Linked DNA regions of Homo sapiens: region 2 is linked to region 1. Evidence: promoter capture Hi-C in human tissues and cell types (Jung and others, 2019). All regions are on one chromosome and are shown on one strand. Each heading gives the region's core, a stretch centred on a gene start or on the middle of the fragment in contact. The rest is flanking DNA. Distances are from core to core; before and after follow the strand shown.

What was found. Contacts are between HindIII fragments. The study calls those that stand out against the background at their distance.
Region 2: a fragment that was not itself captured here is called in contact with the fragment with the promoter of SSR3 in region 1 in 1 of the 25 tissues and cell types used here (mesendoderm cells).

Annotation. Positions count from the first base shown.
Region 1 is chr3:156,552,711-156,557,007 of GRCh38, forward strand. It overlaps SSR3 (signal sequence receptor subunit 3), which reads right to left and starts at 2,407. Exons shown (of 5, transcript NM_007107.5): 1 at 2,247-2,407; 2 at 945-1,071. The coding sequence starts at 2,379. RefSeq lists an enhancer at 2,266-2,345. The HindIII fragment of the contact is 9,549 bases long and covers 1-4,297 here.
Region 2 is chr3:156,050,560-156,054,856 of GRCh38, forward strand. No RefSeq gene overlaps it. Among named protein-coding and RNA genes, the nearest start is that of KCNAB1, 68 kb to the right of the region's middle. The HindIII fragment of the contact is 4,265 bases long and covers 1-4,064 here.

The sequences.
Region 1 (4,297 bases), core at 1,157-3,656:
CAAGTATCACAGTGTACATGAAAGCAACATCAAAGGGCGTCAATTAAACAATTTATACCACTTCCAATGAGACAATGAGGACCATGACGCTGAGAAATAATAAATGTTACCATCTTTCCTAAGTCTACGTGATCCTGCATTTTAACCTCTATGAAACTAGAATATTTAATTGCTTATAATTAAGGTATAAGTTTATTGTGGTGAGGCTTGAGTTTTCTTCTCTAAAAGCTGTATTTTACAGTATGTGTGATCTTAGACTATGTTAATCCTTTACATTTTATACACTTGTATGAAAACAAACGTAATTAGCATTGAAAATGACAGAGAGTTAAAAAAAAAAAAAAGCAATAAAATAAAAAGACCAGCCTGGTCAACATGGCCTGTCTCTACAAAAAAATTAGCTGGGCATGGTAGCCTGCACCTGTAGGCCCAGCTACTTGGGAGGCTGAGGTGGGAGGATCCCTTGAGCCTGGGAAGGTTGAGGCTGCAGTGAACCATAATCATGCCACTGCACTGCAGACTGGGCAAGAACTAGACCTTGTCTCAAAAAATAATAATGACAAAAAGATCATTTCTTTAACTTCCAAAAATAGTACGTGAAGAGCCCAGAACAATTCTCTCCATAAGGAATTACATTTAGCTTCTGAAATGTTAACTTACTTGGTGGGTTTGTTTCTCTGATGAACCTCATATTAAGGCCTGTGTTTAAGTGTTCTAATTCCACCCTCAAAATCTGCTTCTGTAGCCGTGTCAGAATGATCATTGTCTCTACTTCAGTTAGTTAATAATTCTTCCTAGCATCAATGTTCCTTTCCCCCAAAATGTTTATTAATATATATATCTCAAATTAATGCTTATTAAAACCAACACACACAAATGATCTTTAAGAAGACATATAAAAATATAACATGTAGTACGTACTTTCACTTGAAAAACATACTTACTTGTGCTTGAGAACAAATTTCACATTCTTGTATGCAAAGGCTACCAAATATGTGCTTACTAGGGTCATCACACTATACAAAACAGCAGACTGAATAAGATCCATATGCCATATTCGCCAGTATAACCCTGAATTAAAATAAAAGGGGGAAGGGTACAAAAAGAAGCAAAACATTACAACCCCGCAACAAAAGCCTGCGAAATTAATTATAGCTAAGCCTGGTAAAATACCAGGTTATTAGTTATGCAATCCAATAGTATCTGAGGATCTTCAGAAGCGAGATAACCAGTAACAGTATAGTCTCAAGCTTTCCAGTTCAGAACATTTGAAAAACATCACCTTCCTATTACTAGTCCAGATGAGATTTCAACTTCTAAAATGAGAACAAACTCTGGCTCAACGTAATCACAAGTCAGACTTCAAATTTCATTCATCAGGGTACTAGCATGCGAAACACAGGCCATTCCAAAATGCCACGTGCAGCCCCAAACCATAGTTTCCTTGCTGACGTGGCTGTTATCAGAACTCCAAGCAGTGCTATGTCCAATTAGTGAGCCATCATATGGCTTCACATCACGTTAATGGCACGCTGGGTTGTATAAGGACAAAAGAGAAAAATACATTTAGTTTTAAATGCCCAACAACAGTGCAGCAAAAGACAGGAGTTCTGGAAACTTGAGCTCTACTAAAAACGACCTTGTCCAAGTCTGCAGTTTCCCAACCAAGTGAGAATTCTAGAATTGGTCCAGTAGGATTATTAAAAAGTATAAATAAGGTAGATCCCTAACCCCTGGCACTTCAACCTCTCTCTTTTTGCAAAAACCAGGAAAATTATGCAATGGTGTGAAGTAGCTCACGTAAAGATGCACTTATAATTCAGTGGGTCACTTCATGGGTTTCTCACCTAACTAATTTATGCAAAATAAGTAATAAGTTTAAAATTTCGTAACGGCAAGCAACAGTTGTATAGAAAAGGGCAGAGGCAGTATGCTTGAGTTTGTCTGTTTAAATAGAGATTCGGGGCCGCCACCCCAGAACTAGTTAACCACCTTCTCCTGGGGTGGAGCTCGGGAACGTGCGTACTTTTAACAAGTGACCTCCCCGAGTGCTGCACAGGACAATCCCAAGCGACAACACTGTGCCCAAAGAAGAGGCTCCGTGCCTCCCCGAGCTCAGGGGAGCTGGAGAGATTGCCGACCCCCGGCCGGCACCCACGCCTTCCCTGCTCGCCGGGTCCTGCCACGTCCCCGCCCAGCCCGACTAGCCGGCGGCCTGCCTAACCCGCCTCGCTCCCAGCACTCACAGATGGGGATGGCAGACACGATGAACGCGTTTCCGAAGAAGAGCGCGGAGGACTTGGCCGAGAGATTGCGGCTGAAATCCTGCAGGAGCAGGTCCTCCTCAGACTGCTGTTTGGAGCTGCCTTTAGGAGCCATGGCGGAGCTGCAGGCGAGAACAGGGAACGTAGAGCCGGCCGCCAAGGCGGGCAAAGGCCCTTGACTCCGCCCCTGCGGCCGCCGTATCCGCTAACGACCCGTCAGCGCGGCGCGCGGAGGCGGGACCCGGTTTGGCGAAGAGCAAGCGTCCCCAGGATTGGCCAGCTTGGCGCCACTAGATAGGCTTCCGGGCGTGATTGGGCGAGCGGGCCAGACTTCCGGATTCCTGACAAGCCACGTGACCCACCCACCTGGAGGAGAGAGAAGGGATTTGTAGTTTAGTCGGTGCTTTAAAAAAAATTAACAAAACTTTATTGATATTCCACTTCAGAGCTGCTGACAGACTCACGAGTTCTCAGTTCTTCAGAATTCCAAAATTAAAAGCTCTTCTGGCCCCACGCCATTAGTGCCCTCTGTGCGTACCCAGGACTGAGTACGTTGAAGAAGAAAGAAGAGAAAGGTATAGCTAACTCATGTAAAATCCCTTCTCCTTTACACATCCTTTATTTCATTAAATACCTTGAAGAATCTTATGACGTGCGCATCATTACCGCCATTGCAGCTGAAGAGCCTGAGGGTCGTAGACCTGCGGTGTGGGTCTCCAAGGCGTGGGCTCTTTTCACTAAACAATAGGCCACCTCTGTAGGAAGAAGAAAATGGGACTCTTGCTTTTAAGAAACTCATGATCTCATTGATGAAGGCAATATTTAATATATGTCTGATACAAGTTACTACTATTTTATTTTATTTCAACTAGACCTATAGAGTTTTGTGGCTTCCAAAGCCATGCTAAATAAAACATAATACTAAGAACAGGTTGGCTAGGCAAGACTCCCTCTCTGAAGCTCAGAAGGATTAAGTATGTCTATTAAAACAGCTAGATTCCATTTTTAACTCAACACATTATCATTTTTTCTTCAAAAAAAAATTCAACCACATCACTCCCAGCAAATGCTACTTTTGATTACTGAGAACACTCTAGTGCATTAGGCACAATTTCCTCAACCTCCAGCCTCCTTATTAACCGTTTGGTAGATATCTTTCTTCCTCACAGTATCCAAATTGTAATCTACCTCCACAGCTTCCTATTACTAGTCCTAATTGGGCTTTTGTCTTCAATCTTTTCCAGTCTATTCTCTATACAGGTACCAGAGTGAGTTTTCCTGAAATATAAATCCTTCCATTATCTACCGCAAGTGTTCCTTAATGCCAGAAGTTTTCATTAATTCACCACAAAATGAAAAAGAAAAAAAGACCATCTAGTGAATTTTTCAGAAAATCAAAAGTATTCATTTAAAAATATCTGGGTTTATGTCTTTTTTGATGTTAAAAATGCTCTTTATTTTATTACATGGTAGTGATAGAAGAAGAAATTATTATTTTCTCTTACACATACTCCTCCCCCAGTTTTTCCTATCTCACTAAGTTGCATTCTTTTAAACTCATTTGTTGTTCTGGTTAAAATAGTGGGTTTCAACACTAATTATTTTTTTCCTTCTCCATCTATGACCAATTCATAAATAAAACTTTTTGGATCTGTCTCTATAACTAGATTTTCTTCTGCCTATTTATAAACAAACTAAGGATATAAAAAGAAGATAAAAGATAAAAATCAGAGGCTGGGTGCGGTGGCTTATGCCTGTAATCCCAGCACTTTGGGAGACCAAGGTGGGTGGATCACAAGGTCAAGAGACCGAGACCATCCTGGCCAACATGGTGAAACCTCGCTTTTACTAAAAATACAAAAATTAGCCAGGCATGGTGGCGCACGCCTGTAGTCCCCAGCTACTCAGGAGGCTGAGGCAGGAGAATCACTTAAACCCGGGAGGCAGAGGTTGCAGTGAGTCAAGATCGCGCCACTACACTCCAACTCCAGCCTGGCAACAGAGCAAGACTCCATCAAAAAAAAAAAAAAAAA
Region 2 (4,297 bases), core at 682-3,181, 500 kb before region 1:
GTATTCATAGAAAGTTTTAAATAATGTACATAAAAAATAAGGACATGTGACAATTGAAGACATAGGGAGATATGTGGAAGATTTTGGAAAGATGGCAGCAGTCATACAGTCGTTGAACCTACCAGAACACCACTCCCCAATAGAGTAACCAGAATAGCAAGGCCAAAACCCCATGAAAGGTATTTACATCATGACTAGGTGATACGATATCCCCATGTACACCTACATGCTACCAGGTAGGAGCAAAAGCTACAAGATCTGTGTAGTATCAGAAATGATGTGGGAGGAAGTAGAAAGAAGTTAGAGGTACTCCTGATACTGTGAGAGCTTGGAAAACCCCACAGCTGCCATCAGGCAATCACTGGAAGCTCAGCAGGCCATTCTGAGCTCAGCAGCAGAAAACTGCTGAAAGAATAGGAAATAGGGTAAGGCTAAATAAAAATGCAATGTCAATTGTCACTTTAAAAAGTTACTTGTGGTATTCACTGAAGAAGAACATGTGTGTATATTCACTTCCTTGGAGTGAATTTGCTGAGTCATGGGGTATATCTGTCTATCTACCCCATGACTCAGCCAATTCACTCCAAGGAATATACCTAACTAAATATACCTAACTAAACTATGCCTGTATGTGTACCAAAAAGATGAATACTAGAAGATTTGCAGCAGCATTAAACTACTCAGATGTCCATCAACAGTAGAATGGATCGATAAACTGACATATACTCACTCAATGCAATAGTGTACAGCAATAAGAATGAATGGGCTGCTTTGTAGAGAAAAGAGTATGGGGTGGTAAGATTGGAAGCCGGGAAGTGATTTGGAAATTGGTAGTGATTACTGTCATCTAGGTAATAGCTCATGATGGCTTGGCTGGGAACAGAGCTCTCAACAATTTGGGGTGAGTTTAACCGTCACATCAGATTTGCTGGCATCCTTTAGACATCTGACACTTGCACATTTGAAGCACATGTTCAAATAAAAGGGTACACATTAGAAAGCTACAAATTTAAAAACCTAACATCACTTCCCAAAATAATCCTATCGAGAGATGACAATGTGTTAGCAGCCCTCGCTCACTCTCAGTGCCTCCTTGGCCTTGGCGTCTGCTCTGGCCACACTTGAGGAGCCCTTCAGCCTGCCAGTGCACTGTGGGAGCCCCTCTCTGGGCTGGTGGAGGCTGGAGCCAGCTCCCTTGGCTTGCGGGGAGGTGTGGAGGGAGAGGCGCTGGTGGGAACTGGGGCTGCGGGCAGTGCTCGCAGGCCAGCACGAGTTCCGGGTGGGCGCAGGCTCAGTGGGCCCCACAGTCAGAGCGGCCGGCCCCTGGGCAGTGAGGGGCTTAGCACCTGGGCCAGCAGCTGCAGAGGGTGCGCCGGGTCCCCCAGCACTGCCAGCCCGCCGGCACTGTGCTTGAATTCTCACTGGGCCTCAGCTGCCTCCCCACGGGGCAGGGCTTGGTTCCTGTACCCCACCATGTTGTCCCCTCTGCCTAGCTCCTCTGCACCACCTCCCCTGCCCCCTCTCTCCCCCACTTCCCTCTTCCCCTCTCCCCACCCCCCACTCCTGCTCTCCCCCCTCCCCCTGCCCCCCACAACCTCCCCCTCCCCCTCCCCCTTTTTCTTTCTCTCCCCCCCGCCACCCCACCCTCCTCCCCCGCCACCCCACCTCCTCCCCTGCCACCCCACCCCCACCCTCCCCTCCATGGGCTCCCACACAGCTCGAGCCTACCTGACCAGCGCCGCCCTCTGCTCCACGGCGCCTGGTCCCATCTACCACCCAAGGGCTGAGGTGTGCAGGTGCGTGGTGTGGGACTGGTGGGCAGCTCCATCCATGGCCCAGGCACTGGATCCACTAGGCAAAGCCAGCTGGGCTCCTGAGTCGGGTGGGGTCTTGGAGAACTTTTATGTCTAGCTGGAGGATTGTATATGCACCAATCAGCACTCTGTGTCTAGCTCGGGGTTTGTGGATGCACCAATCAGCACTTTGTGTCTAGCTCAAGGTTTGTAAATGCACCAATCAGCACCCTGTGTCTAACTCAAGGTTTGTAAATGCACCAATCAGTGCTCTGCATTTAGCTAACCTAGTGGGGACTTGGACAACTTTTGTGTCTAGTTAAAGGATTGTAAATGCACCAATCAGTACTCTGTGTCTAGCTCAAGGTTTGTAAATGCATCAATCAGTGCTCTGTGTCTAGTTAATCTAGTGGGGACTTGGAGAACTTTTATGTCTAGCTAGAGGATTGTAAACACACCAATCAGCACCCTGTCAAAACAGACCAATCAGCTCTCTGTAAAACGGACCAATCAGCAGGATGTGGGTGGGGTCAGATAAGGGAATAAAAGCAGGCTGCCCCAGCCTGCAGCAGAAACCCATTCGGGTTCCTTTCCATGCCATGGAAGCTTTGTTCTTTCGCCCTTTGCAGTAAATCTTGCTGCTGTTCACTCTTTGGGTCTGCACCCACCTTTAAGAGCTGTAACACTTACCGCGAAGGTCTGCACGTTCACTCCTGAAGCCAGCAAGACCACGAACCCACCGGAAGGAACGAATAACTCCAGACGCGCAGCCTTTAAGAGCTGTAACACTTACCGCGAAGGTCTGTGGCTTCACTCCTGAAGTCAGCAAGACCATGAACCTACTAGAAGGAAGAAACTCCGGACACATCTGAACATTTGAAGGAACAAACTCTGGACACGCCATCTTTAAGAACTGTAACACTCACTGTGAGGGTCCACGGCTTCACTCTTGAAGTCAGTGAGACCACAAACTTATCAAAAGGAAGAAACTCTGGACGCATCTGAACATCTGAAGGAACAAACTCCGGACACATCTGAACATCTGAGGGAACAAACTCCGGACACACCATCTTTAAGAACTGTAACACTCATGCGAGGGTCCGCGGCTTCATTCTTGAAGTCAGCGAGACCAAGAACCCACCAATTCCGGACACACTATTACATTGTACTAGCTTCTACTGCCCTTTGTATTTCTGATTAATAAGGAAATCCTTTAACTTGATAAAGCCACCTGGGTAGAAAATGATTTTGTCAGTGATTGCCTGAGCTTGCTAGTAGTTGAAAAACATAAATAAAACTTTCTTGCTTCTTCTTTCCCATTTAAGTTTAGAGTGAGTAAACAAACCTTTTTCCTTTCTGTCTTTATTTTGTTTAGTAGTGCTTTTACAAGTGCTGTTGGAGAAGACAGCCATATTCTAGGAGGTGTCAAGAGAATAAAAATGGATATGGGATGCAAATGCTGTTTCTGTTCTTTAAAAAGCAACTAGCTAACCCAGAAACCATTGCTTGGTACACATGTGTGTGAAACAGACACAATCTCTTTGGGTCATTTATTGATATGGTGAGATGCAAAGCAAAGAAATTAGAGTTATCGCTTAACCAGCACCTGGCCTTTTCTTCCTCCCTAAATCAACCTTGATTTCTAATTTTTATCTAACTTTATCTTTGAAGTTTCTCTTCATGATGCTCCCATTTTTGGGGTGGAGTATATTGATTTATAGGTCAAGCACATGAGTTTCTTAAGGCAAAGCACAAATTACTTACTACTTGATTGTTGTTTTGTTGTTGTTTTTGTCTTTGCCTTACTAACTTCAGTTTAAAAGTAAATCTTTCCACAGTGTAAAGTAGACTGACAGACTGGCCAGCATCCTCAGTGATGGTCTTGATTGGGAAGACAAACGCAAGGTGATTTAGTGTCGTAGTCTCAGAACTGGTTGGAGAAGGTAGAGCAAAATGGCTAATAACAATGATTTTAGAAAAACAATGGCTTGGTGCTGATTGTGTACTTTCTTGCTGTGTAATCTCAGGTCAATTACTTTACCTCTCTAAGCACTAAGCCTGGCACATAGTAAACATTCAACAACTGTTAGCTAGTTACACTAGTTGTAACAAAGAGAATTTAACTATTAGCTATTAGTATTGTTATTAGTAGTTGCACCTATGTGTATTTATCCCAGCCCCATGGATTGAGCATTTTATTTTATTATTTGAGACAAAGTTTCACTTTGTTGCCCAGGCTGGAGTGCAGTGGCACGATCTCGGCTCCCTGCAACCTCTGCCTCCTTGGTTCAAGCAATTCTCGTGCCTCAGCCTCCTGAGCAGCTGGGATTACAGGTGCCTGCCACCAGGCCTGGCTGATTTTTTATATTTTAGTAGATACAGGGTTTCACCATGTTGCCCAGGCTGGTCTCGAACTCCTGAGCTCGGGGAATCCACCCAGCTCGGCTTCCCAAAGTGCTAGGATTACAGGCGTGAGCCGCCGTGGAACTGGGCATTTTAAACCC